3 separate regions of the Homo sapiens genome follow, and regions 2 and 3 are each linked to region 1. Evidence: promoter capture Hi-C in 16 types of primary human blood cells and fetal thymus (Javierre and others, 2016). All regions are on one chromosome and are shown on one strand. The core of a region is centred on a gene start or on the middle of the fragment in contact, and the rest is flanking DNA. Distances in the headings are between cores, read along the strand shown. Region 1 holds the start of CD274 (CD274 molecule). Region 2 holds the start of LOC124902113 (a long non-coding RNA gene). Region 3 overlaps RCL1 (RNA terminal phosphate cyclase like 1).

What was found. The method cuts DNA at HindIII sites, captures the fragments that hold promoters and counts their contacts. A CHiCAGO score of 5 or more calls a contact.
Region 2: a contact is called between a fragment that was not itself captured here and the fragment with the promoter of CD274 in region 1, in 1 of 17 cell types (erythroblasts). The highest score is 5.8, in erythroblasts.
Region 3: a fragment that was not itself captured here is called in contact with the fragment with the promoter of CD274 in region 1 in 1 of 17 cell types (erythroblasts); the score reaches 5.5 in erythroblasts.

The regions. Positions count from the first base shown.
Region 1 is chr9:5,449,292-5,453,459 of GRCh38, reverse strand. It overlaps CD274 (CD274 molecule), which reads right to left and starts at 2,918. Exons shown (of 7, transcript NM_014143.4): 1 at 2,864-2,918. RefSeq lists enhancers at 2,642-2,801, 3,092-3,141. The HindIII fragment of the contact is 3,244 bases long and covers 1-3,056 here.
Region 2 is chr9:4,850,095-4,854,133 of GRCh38, reverse strand. The region is part of intron 8 of RCL1 (RNA terminal phosphate cyclase like 1); the gene reads right to left. It overlaps LOC124902113 (a long non-coding RNA gene), which reads right to left and starts at 3,767. Exons shown (of 2, transcript XR_007061402.1): 1 at 872-3,767; 2 at 1-320. It overlaps MIR101-2 (microRNA 101-2), which reads right to left and starts at 3,837; the gene lies at 3,759-3,837. The HindIII fragment of the contact is 305 bases long and covers 1,492-1,796 here.
Region 3 is chr9:4,822,788-4,827,300 of GRCh38, reverse strand. It overlaps RCL1 (RNA terminal phosphate cyclase like 1), which reads right to left. Exons shown (of 9, transcript NM_005772.5): 2 at 3,682-3,753; 3 at 268-443. Among named protein-coding and RNA genes, the nearest start is that of MIR101-2, 25 kb to the left of the region's middle. The HindIII fragment of the contact is 1,048 bases long and covers 1,558-2,605 here.

The sequences.
Region 1 (4,168 bases), core at 1,669-4,168:
CTGAGGATAGATTTTCCCAAATAGTGTTGCTGATCAAAGAAAAAGAACATTTTTCTGGTTCTCAACACATGTTGATAATTGGTACTGTTACACTGTATTTTCACCCATTGTTTAAAAAATATTATTTTTTTGCTAATTTGAAAGATCTGATCATTTTTTGGTCTGTTTATGTCACTGGTTTCTTATCAACCTGTATGAGTCCTTCATGTTAAAAGATAAAAAGGTTAAGTGAAATAACATGAGTCATCATCCTCTTGCCAGTGTTAGGTACCTATTTTTTTATTTCTTTCCTTTCCGTCTATCCTGTAGATGTGGAATAGCGATGGCATTCAGGCCTGTGAGGTCACATTTGCTAAAATGGGGCTGCAGCATCTATCAGACTATCTTTTCCTTGGGCCAGAGTTAACTGTACAGTTATAAAATATTACTTATAAAATATAAATATTACTTATAAAATATTTTATAACTGTACAGTTATAAAATATTAATGTGATATTTTATGATTATTGTATTATAAACACAAATTCACTTACTAGGCAGAAGAAAACTTAAAATACCCCTAATGCCAAGCAAAGCATTATAACCATATGGGAATAAAACAAAGGGACATTAAATCTAGTCATGGATTACAACTAATTTTGCCAATGTTTATGGCCTACTCTGGTGGAGTTCTTGTCCTTTAATGAATTTGGTTGAAATTTTTAGGAGTAATAAAGGCTTCCTGGAGGGTGATGGATTAGATCCAATATTTACTTAATTTCTTATCAAACCCTCTCTTCCACAGCTCCATTTCCTTGGGGTGCAGCTGTCATTAGTGAGGGACGAAAAGGCAGAATACAAAGATCATGTAAATACACACATGTTCTTTAACCTCTAAACCTCATATCAGGGCAGTTGGTCTAAGAGAAGAAGACTGACATCTTCTTCAGGTAAGAATTATGACCATATGTGAATTCCCATATCCGAATGGAGACATTTAAAGAGCAATGAAATGTAAACTGGGGAAGAAGTGATGGCTCATTCAGGTTGGGGAAGTGGGTTTGTCCCTGGGGGAAGCCCAGTATAACACTATGGAACTAATACTACTTCTCTATCTTCCAAGGGTAGGATGGGTAGGAGGATGAGATAGAGAAAAAGTTAAGCAGCCAGGAGCAGTGGCTCATGCCTGTAATCCCAGCACTTTGGGAGGCCGAGGCAGGCGGATCACCTGAGGTCAGGAGTTCGAGATCAGCCTGGCCAATATGGTGAAACCCCATTTCTACTAAAAATACAAAAATTAGCTGGGCGTGGTGGCAGGTGCCTGTAGTCCCAGCTACTCGGGAGGCTGAGGCAGGAGAATCACTTGAACCCGGGAGGCAGTGAGCTGAGATTGCACCACTGCACTCCAGCATGGGCAACAGAGTGAGACTCTGTCTCAAAAAAAAAAAAAAAAAGACAAAAAAAACCGGTTAAACTTCCTTTCTCAAAAGTAGGAGCAAGAGGCCTGCATGGTGGCTCCCGCCAGTAATCCCAGGACTTCTGGAGCCTGAGGAGGGAGGATCGCCTGAGGCTAGGAGTTCGAGAACAGCCTGGGCAACATAACAAGAGCCCCATCTCTACAAAAACAAAAAAAAAATTCTTAAGTAGGATCAAAGATTAAGACAGTTGATTTATTAAACCTCTACTAAGTGACCAAACTTTATTAAACTCCATGAAACCCCATGCCCAACCTCCTTCTCAGTCACACTGAGACACTCTTGTACATTTTCCACATGGGGTTTCAATTCCCCACAGTATTTCTGTGACTTCCTTGAAGACCACACTCTAACTGCTGTCATGTGGCCTCTGCCTACCTACTTTTACTGAGAAAGGCTAAGTTTTTCTTCAGAGTATCATAGTTCTCCTTAAATACTGTTGACGACTGTCATTGTCAACTGATACATCCTTTCTGGAAAGCATTTTCAGTTTTCTTCAAAAGGCCTTTAAAATATTCAGGCTCTTTGACTAAGTAGTTACACTTCTAAGTTTACTTGAAGGAAACAATCAGCAATATTCCAGAGATATATATGCAATGAGTTCAGTGAATGGCTAAGACAGAACCACTGTAAATAACCTTTATACCCAACAGTGAGGAATTAATTTCATTTAGTTACCCAATCTAATCGAATGCAGCAATGAAAACATTTTTTAGAAGGTTATTTAATTCATAGAAAAGCATCCACAGTAAATTTTTTTCAAGTATTAAAAAAAGAGGTAGAACAATGGTACTTTTACTCCTTGTGTTATAAGACAAACCCAGACTGAACTTTGACATAGGCCAAGGTCAATGTGTCTAAGAAATGTTTTATTATACTATTTTTATTCTTAGGCTCCTCCATTCCTCTTTTAGGACTCCTTTGGGTTCTCAGAATGGACAGAGCAAATAAATTCCGTTCAGGGATCCTGGACCTGCTTAGCGCAGGAAGAGACTTACTTAGATGCTGCAGCTGGGATAACTTACACAAGTCATGTTACTAGCAAGCAGCTGGCGGTGGACTTGGACCCGTGTCCAGACCTCCAGCCTAGCATCAGAGCTATATTCTGAACACACAGTCGCATAAGAATGACTACCTATCCTATACTACCTATCTTATTTATTTTTAGAGGTATAAATTATTTTTAGAGCAAAACTGAATCGCGCCTGGAGGAAGGCCAGATGCATTGCCTGTTCTTATTAACCCCAACAGGTAATTGGCTCTACTGCCCCCTAGACCATCGCGTTCCCTTTCCCTTCTCCTCTCTCCATCCCAAAGAAAGGGTGTAGAGACCCTCCGTCCTAAAGTGCCCAGCGAGCTAGCCAGAGATACTGGGCCGTGGGCACCCGCGGAGGAACAACGCTCCCTACCTGCAGGCGGACAGAAGCGCGGCTGGTGCGGAGCCTCGGGAAGCTGCGCAGAACTGGGGCCGCGCGGGACGCGCCAGCTGCTCAGCGTTGCGCCAGGCCCGGAGGCGGGGTCCCGCCCACCTCTGCCCAAGGCAGCAAATCCAGTTTGCCGGGCGTTGGACTTTCCTGACCTTCGGTGAAATCGGCGGAAGCTTTCAGTTTAGGTATCTAGTGTTGGTGTCCTAGGAATAAAGCTGTGTATAGAAATGAAACAGAAAGTGAAACATGTCAGTCCAGTTTTCTTGTAAATGAGATTTTCACCGGGAAGAGTTTCGAAGATTAAAGCAAATCCACATTTAGTATGTTATTAATAAAAAAAGAAATTTACAACAAGCCAACATCTGAACGCACCTTGATTTTACCTTCAGAGGGGTAAGAGCTTAAGGTTACCCCTTAACCTTTATCAGAAAGGCGTCCCCCTTTCTGATAAAAGCCTCTTCAAGGTGACTGAACATCTTGACATAACTTGATATAACTCTACAACATATAAAAAGTCAGCAGCAGACCCATATGGCTTTGGTTTTTATTCTAGAAAGTAGGTGTGTGTGTGTGTGTATGGGTGTATAATAGGAAATATATTTTTAAATCGTGGATTCTGTGACTTCCTCAAAGTTCCTCGACATAATGAAACTTCATTTGCTTTGTCATTAAAAGAACTTCCCATCCCGAGCTACATCTTTTAAGAATGCTCAGGGTCCCTGATATTCTGCCACCCTAAGGATTAAGGCTGCGGAAGCCTATTCTAGGTGAGGGTTAAGAAAGCCCTTTTGAAAGCTTTGGGTTAGTGAATGGGCCCAAGATGACAGACGATGGTGTCATAATTTACTTAAGTATTATCCCGCGCTGAACTTCTAGGTGCTCTCTTTTCTCGAACTCCTTGACCTCAAGTGATCCGCCAAAGTGCTGATATTACAGGCTTGAGCCACCGTGCCTGTGTGCTCCCTTTTCTTTTTTTTCTCTTTTTCTAAATTGAGAAATTGGACTCTTCGTTGTTTGCCTTTCCTTCTTATTCATTTCAACTGCAGTTCAAAATACTGCATAATGAATGAATATTGAGATAGCCCTTGCATTGGTTATGACATTTGCTTCCAAAATAAGAATTTTCACATTCTGATTGTATCACAGATTTTTATTTTTATCTGGGAAATTATTGAGGCTGACACTGCCTTGATTTGGCAGGAGCATGGAGTTCTCTTTGGCCCCAATAAAATTGCAATAGGGTTTGGGCCCAGCTCAGATGTTCCTTCTTTCAAATCACTTTTGAGG
Region 2 (4,039 bases), core at 395-2,894, 600 kb after region 1:
CTATCACTTGCTTTTACCATACACCAATTATGTTCTAGGGCTCAAACATCAGGTGACAGGGCTTTACAGAATTTAAACGCTTCACAAAACTAAGACATAGTGGTACTGTGCAAGCTCATGGAATGCAGTGAGGCCACTGACCCCAAGTAGAGGCAGGCTTGGCCGGCAGTTCCCAGTTTCCCCACTGGTTTCCTCATTGGTTCTTCAGAGGGCTGAGCTTTAGGCTGAGTGGGCTAGGAAGCCCCACTCAGTTGGTGTTTAACAAGGACAGTGTCCTCTAGCTCCTCAGCACTTCCACAGTCATGGAAAAAGGTCATTAACTAAAGTTAGAAAAAAAAAAGTCACGGTTTATTTTAGATTTCCAACTAAAGATAGAAAGAGATCATTTTACAGCAGAATTTGAAACGAGGACTTTGCTGAAAAGATGTAGCATGGCATCCTGCCTCAGGCAAGGTGCTTGGAGTCCAGCGATATGGATGGAATCCCAGCTCTTACATAAGAGCACAATGGGTTGGCCGGGCACGGTGGCTCACGTCTGTAATCCCAGCACTTTGGGAGGCCGAAGCATGTGGATCACCAGGTCAGGAGATCGAGATCATCCTGGCTAACACGATGAAACCCCGTCTCTACTAAAAATACAAAAAATTAGCCGGGCATGGTGGCGGGCGCCTGTAGTCCCAGCTACTCAGGAGGCTGAGGCAGGAGAATGGCACGAACCTGGGAGGTAGAGCTTGCAGTGAGCTGAGATCGCGCCACTGCACTCAGCCTGGGCGACAGAGGAGACTCCGTCTCAAAAAAAAAAAAAAAAAGAGCACAGTGGGTAAGGGAAGCAGTGACTGGAGGAGACTGTCCAGGTCTGAACCCCACTTACTGTCTGTGTGACCCTGGGCACGTAACTTGACCTCGCTGTGCCTCAATCCCATCACCTGTAAGACGGTGCACATGATAGTACTTGCCTTTTTTGCCCTTATGAAGTTATGATGAAAACCAGATAAGTTATTATGTCTGAGTGCTTAAAACAACATCTTGCACACAGTAAACACGGTGTTGTTTAAATAAACATCTACCTTACAGAATTCTTAGGATCAATAAGATGTGTGTAGTTTGCTCAGTAATGTGACTAGGGGAAGTCAGTCATAAAAATAATAACTAGAAATTAAAATTTTTTAATCCATAATTTAAAATTAATGGATATAGATTTATAGGTAGCTGGGCAGACCACTTACAGATGACTTAAACCCTAAAATCACCCAAAGCAAGTTTACTAGGCCTCCTGGGGTTCAAAGTGACCTGACCGGGCTACTCTAGCCACACTGCCTCTGGGGTAGTCCTGCTCCTCAAGGAGCAGTTAAAAAAAAAAAAAAGTGACCTGACCAAGGGACTGGACTGCAGCAGGGTGAAGGGGTGTCCAGGCAGGAACCACAGCACCCAGCACTGACAGCTCCTCAGGCACGTTGCCAGGAGCACTAAGCATCTGACTTAATCTAAGCTTCGTTCCATCTCCACAAGTCCAGGACTTCAGGACCACGCACCTTATCTACAAATGACACCAAGGCTCCAAGATGCTAAATACCATTTCCACGGTCTCCTGGTAGCGCGTGGTAGAGCCTTAAGTCCAGATAGGCTGGACTCCAAGACTTGTGCACTGGCAGAATGCAGAGAGCTCTGGTAACTGCAGTCTCATTCCACAAATAATTTCTGAAAGTGCTAATTAAGATGCATCTTAATTTTTGCTATTTTTCTTGCTGTTAATCCAAAAGTATAAATCCTCCCTCCCTAAACTGTAAAATTAAGCTTGTTGAATGGAGGGTGCAACTACTGTCACTAACTGTAAGCCACCTAAAACTCAACAAATTTAACAGAAATAGAATCTTCATATACCAGTGATTATCCAACAGTATTTTATTCTACTGAAAAAAAATCTCTTGGGCCTTTCTAAAAGAGTTTCACATTGGCCGGACTTGGTGGCTCAGGCCTGCAATCCCAGCACTTTGGGAGGCCAAGGCGGGTGGACCACGAGGTCAGGAGATCGAGACCATCCTGGCTAACATGGTGAAACCCCGTCTCTACTAAAAATACAAAAAATTAGCCAGGCACGGTGGCGGGTGCCTGTAGTCCCAGCTACTCGGGAGGCTGAGGTAGGAGAATGGCGTTGAACCCGGGAGGCGGAGCTTGCAGTGGGCGGAGATTGCGCCTCTGCCCTCTAGCCTGGGCGACAGAGCGAAACTCTGTCTCAAAAAAAAAAAAAGAGTTTCACACATACAGACTTACTTTCTCAAGTAGCACAGAAAACCACCAACAGCAATCCCAATGCTCTTTACATAGACATTTAAAAAGCTGTTTTATACACACGAAAAACAGGTCCAAACTGCTTGAAGAAATGCTTTTTTTTTTTTAAACCAAGGAAGGTCTTGCTTCTGGTTTTCTTTAGAAATCTGAGGTTTCACAAAACAGGTTTCTATGACTTTAACTACACATAAAAATAAATGTGTTAGTTTGGTCTCCAAAGCTCTTGAATCCATTAGAATAAACTATTCCCCCACCATGATGGTCCTCACCGTGGATTTCATCCCTTTTTTATCCTCAACTGTACTCACAAATACAATGTTAACTTTGCCTGCTGCATCCTGCCTTTGCCCTTCATCTCTTTGTGCTGCTGGAGCTGTCCATAGTGATTAGGGGCAGAAAGAGTATGAAACAGATCCAGCTTTCTTGAAAATAGACTCCCTTACCTGTCTTTATGCTAGCTTACCAAAAAGAACGGAGGCTTCCCTTTCCCACCCTGGCAGACCCGTCTGCACAAAGCTCTGGGAGGCAGCAGAATATCTCTAAGCCCCAGCCTCAAGATACATCATCTTACAATTTGTGCTACTCCTTTAAAGCTCCATTCAGAGCAGGACACTGTTTTCACAGGAGAGGAAGTCATTTTATGCAAGTTTTCTGGAAGAAAAGACACTACAATTAATGTTTGGTGAGAAGATGTGTTGAAGAGGACACAGGAACTTTCAAAAATGTCCAGTCATATCTTGAGCATCTCTGCAAAGCTTGAAAACATCATACAGGTCCTGGAGCCAAATTGAAAAATCTCCAAAAGCAAAAGAAAAAAAGTGTCACGAAAAAAAACATATATGTATTCCATTTTCACAGAATGTTCTGCCAAACCCCATGCCCCAGGACCACACACATTCAAGACAACACCCCATACCTCATACCGTGTGTGCAAGCAGGACTTCCCCAGGCCTGAAGCAAGGGCTGGGAAACGGCAGCTACGAGCCCAGCTACAAAGCCGGTGGGGCCACAGTGGCCACACAGCTGGCAGCCGCCTCCAGTGAGCTCTCTACAGGAAGCGAGTCTCTGTACCTAGGGTGCCATTCTTCCAGCCCTCATCTCCTCTCCAAGTACTTAACTACCAAGTCTATTTTAGCATTGTTTACTACTGATGTTACCACGCCATTTAGGATTACTCAATTTTAGGTATCCTGTCCTACGAAATACTTTTACACAAGCTATCAGGAGATAATGTGGTCCTTACCAGTTTCCTGCTTATCAGTCTTCCCTCTCTGCTAACAGAATGTATTCTCTTCCATTTTCCTGTTCTAAAAAAACCTCCCACCACGAATTCCAAAAAAAAAAAAAAAAAGAAAAAAAAAAGCCTCCATAAGAATTTATTTCAAGCTCCTGGTTTTCATGCCCCCAACGCCATGGCCCAAGGGTGCATAGCCCCACCGCAGTCCTCAACCCTTTCTCAATGTGATGGCACCACCATTCTTCAGTTATCACAGTACTGTACCTTTCAGATATACAGCATCGGTACCATGATAACCGAAAAAGGACAGTTCAGTCTCATATCTACCTGAATATTCCCTGCCACCCAGCTCACCAACCTCAGATGGGCCATATGATGATCTCCAAGTATGCAAGCACGTGAAAACACACACACACAATGTCAGTACTCAAATAGGCTGTTTTCCGCAACCTCATTTACTATCAATAGGAAATGCTTCTTTCACAGTGTCATTTATAATTCAAGTCTTCTGAC
Region 3 (4,513 bases), core at 832-3,331, 630 kb after region 1:
GATGAGACGGAGAGCATCTGTTTTGAAGGTTCTTAGGTAACAACAAAAGGCACCTTGGTAACTGTTAACAATAGTCCTGAATTTGATGATCCTAAGTTTTGGTTCATCTGCCTCCTGGAGTGATTAACCTCTAAATCTCAAAGTAAATAACAAAAGCAATATACATTTGTAATAAAACTGTGCCTTATAAGGAACTTTTTTCTCACAAGTTGGGTTGTGACAAGAGACAAAACAAAAACCACACCACGGTTTGTTCTCAATACTCACTGAAGGGTCAACCTGATCATTGGTCACTCCTCGTAGAACTATTTTTAACGGGTGCTTCATAAATGGAGCCAAGCAAAGAAGACTCTCCAGGTAATACCCAATGCCACGAAGGACGCTACAGTCATGTTCCACAGATCCACCATACAGGAGGCCAGGCTGATAATATAAGGTTGTTCCTTAAACCAGAAGAAAAAGAGCCACATTCAGCAGGAAAAAAACTAAAATGTCACAAAGGTAATGAAGGCAGTGAGTTCCAAGGGGAAAGCCTGACAAGGGCATCCAAGAGTGCTCGAAATGCCATCTTGCTAAGAGCCCACACTTCGCTCCAAAAGCTGACTCACTACTGTCAAGCCCCTGTAACAATAATAAACTGTGAATGTAATTTAATAATCAGTAATAAAGTAAACCCCTCTCTGAGCCATCTGAGTTGCCAGAGTCATGGCAGGGCACAGAAAAGAGATCCTAATAAGCACCCTAGTCTCCCAACAGCACATTCTCAGACTAGGCTGACCACAGAGGGGAATTACAAATGATGTGCTTAAATCATCACACCAGCAACCAGCATCCTCTAGGGCCCCTGAAATGATATTTCTCATATACCTCATTCACCAAACATGATGCCAAGAAAAGGCAAGTACTTTATGGCATTCAGTGCCATTAATAGTAGGTCTTTTAATTTAATATTGATACAGGGACATGCCTAATATTATTTTACGGCTTTAGTGGAAACTACTATCTTTATTCACTTCTCACATAATCGTATCATTCAAAAAGCTTTGTTTTGTTTTGAGACAGGGTCTTGCTCTGTCCCCCAAGCTGGAGTACAGCGGCATGATCACAGCTTGCTGCAGCTCAACCTCCAGAGCCAAGCAATCCTCCCATCTCAGCCTCCAGAATAGCTGGGACCACGACCAGCTAATTTTTTTTTTCTTTTTCTTTCTTTCTTTCTTTCTTTTTTTTCTTTATTTTAGAGAAAGGGTCTCACTATGTTGTCCAGGATAGTCTTGAACTCTTGGGCTCAAGTGATCCTCCCACCTCAGCCTCCCAAAGTGCTGAGACCCTAGGCACATGCTACCACACTCAGCTAATCATTTTTTTTTTTTGAGAAAGGGTCTCACTATATTGCCCAGGCTAGTCTGAAACTCCTAGGCTCAGCTTCCCAAAGTGCTGGGATTACAGACATGAACCACCTTGTGCCTGGCTATCCAAAAAGCTTCTTACTCCCATCTCATCTTCCCAAAGTGCTGGGATTACAGGCATGAACCACCATGCCTGGCTCTCCAAAAAGCTTCTTACTAGATTTACATATCAATGTAAAAAACTGTAAATGACATAGGGGGACATAAATGGTTGAACAAGGTATTTCTGCTGCACAAAATCTTTTGCAATGCCCTCTGGCACAATTTACCAAAAATATATTTAACATTAGAGGAAGGAGGCATGTTCAGTCACTCAAATGGGAAAAAGTTCTTGGGACTTTCATAAAATAAATGTAGGTTTTACTACATTAAACACTAGAATCCAAACAATCACAATCAGGACCATATTCTGATCAAAGTAATGAACACTTCTCAAATGGACTCTGGGTCAGTTATCTGAAATAGTTGTAAGGGCCACAAAACCATCCTTTAGATCAAAAAACCATAAAAAGACTATATATTCACTAAATGCTTCAAATCCGTATGTTTATTTATACAAATTAGCCAAATGAGAAACTGGCCAGATCATCAGAATGAAGGCTTTTACTACTCTGATGCGGAAAATTAAAAGGACATGTAGTGGGAGCAGAATCATGTAAATGTCTTACTCCTCAATCTACATTGCCAGTATGACTAGAAAAGAATAGACTTGGGCCACGCACTGTGGCTCATGCCTGTAATCCCAACACTTTGGAAGGCTGAGGTGGATGGATCACCCGACAGATCACCCTGTCTCTACTAAAAAAAAAAAAAAAATGAGCCAGGTATGGCAGCAGGCAACTGTAATCCCAGCTACTGGGGAGGCTAAGGCAGGAGAATCGTTTGAACCCGGGAGGCAGAAGTCGCCATGTGCCAAGATCGCACCACTGCACTCCAGCCTAGTTGACGGAACAAGACTCCGTCTCACACAGACACAAAAAAAGAATAGAATTATCCGTCTTCTGGATCACCAATGAAAGTTACTGAAAAAACCTCCAGCAATTTCAAAGCAAACAAGCTAAAGGAAATTAAGGGACTCATAGCTGGCAAAAGACATGTGAGTATCTCATTCCCGAAACCTGTTCTCCATAAGATATGGCTGAATGCAGCTATAGATCAGAATATCTCATGTGGTATAGGACCACATATGAACCCAAGCTTGCCTTAAGAGAGCCAAGATAGGGAAAAGGTCAGAGATTTATTTGTGGAATGTGTGCGGAAAGGTAGAGAGTTAATGGAGTCAGCCAACGGATGTTTGCCACAGTTTTCCATACAATGTAGACACAAGTTTCTAATAGAAAAAATAAAAGCTAGAAACAACCTAAATGTTTATCAATGGGGAGCAGTTAAATAAATTATCATGCATCAATACACTGGAATACTATACTACAACCCACAGAAATATTAAGGAAGACCTGCATGTGCTGGAAGGGAAAGTTCTCTGAGACATTTGTACTAGCAAAAAAAAAAAAAAAAAAAAATGCTGGCTGAAGAACAATATGAAGAGCATGATGTTGCTGATGGTCTGAATTATGCAAATGTCCATGTAAGCAAATGCTGTGACAGTGGCTACCCCTGGAGAGGGGAATGGAAGAGGAAAGAGGTGAAGGGATGTTCACATCTTTTGCATATACTTGTGTAAACTTATTTTAACAAACAAAATTTAAAATAAATAGAATTCAGCCCATAAACTACCTCACAGAGTTGGCTGAAATAATTTAATGTGATAATATAAGTAAATGGACTTTGGAAAGTTTCATGTAAACATTATGTATAAAATATTTATTGTTAAAAAAAGAGGAGAGACTTTGCTGAAATTTTCAGTCTTCTAACTTCCTTAAATCAAATGTACGCCCTTCAAATTGGGAGACTTCATGTATGTCTCTGGAAAATCATATCACAGAGAGGTAACTGGGTCTTTCCATCGGAACACGGTATTTTTTAAAATGATCTAGAATGATATGCTTTTATTATGATCTACACTCACAGCTTCCTCATATAACTCCAAAGTTATATGGTGAGTTCCTCATATAAGTCCCCCCAAAATTCTAATTTAATGGTGATTTATATAATACAAAGTGATTAGTAAAGCTTTAAACATAATATTTATACCATTAAAAAGAGTGATTTGGATAAGCAGAGACTGACTAGAAAAAAAAAGGAAAGAAAAAAAAGAGTGAGAAACAGGAATGCTTTAGTGCATGGAGGTGCTTTTAGGAATCTAAAAGGAGCTTACCTGTTTGGTTTATTTCAATTCGAGAACCATTCGTTATTTTGTCCAATAGCCTTATGAAGCTGGCTTCAAAATCTGTGAAGAAAAAAAATCTGTGAAGAAAAGAGAAGACAGACTGTCCTCATGTCAGGTCAACATTTCCAGAGCACATGCCTGATTCAGGTACTGTGGTAGAGGGCAGGTTACTTCCTGCATCACACCTGGGCTTTCCTAAAGGACTGGGTAGGTTCACAGGTTGAGGAACCTGACGCAGTTGAAAAGCACTGACTGGTACATATATGTTTAGTAGAACTTAGAAACAATTCAGCTTTCACATTGTAAAAAAAAAAAAAAAAAAAAAATAGCTCCACCAGCAATCTAATGGGATATTACTTTCAGCAGCATAAAACCCTTAAGACCTATTCTTCTGAACTCAGGAGGACATGCCAAATAACGGAGAAACAGTAGAAAGTAGGGAACAATTTTAAAGTCAGATTCTTCCCTGCTCCAGAATGCCTGGAAGGAAAGATTAAATTGAGGACCACCCTTCAGTCTCAGAGACAGTAAGAGATCACTATCTCTGCCTTTCAGCAAAGTATCCCTCCCTTTTCCCATCCTCTACCATCCTACTGATTTCAACTATCTAACCAGTTCAGTTTTTTATTTTACTAAAAGGGTGTTTGAATGTACAGTATTACTGCCTTCTTTTTTTAATGCATGAGAAAATACTGGAAGAAAAAAGGCGAAATGTTAATAAATGTTTTTATCTTAATGATTGGATTTTATATAAATTTAATTTTATATTAAAAGTTTATTTATTTATTTTTAAGAGACAGGGTTTGTTGCCCAAACTGGA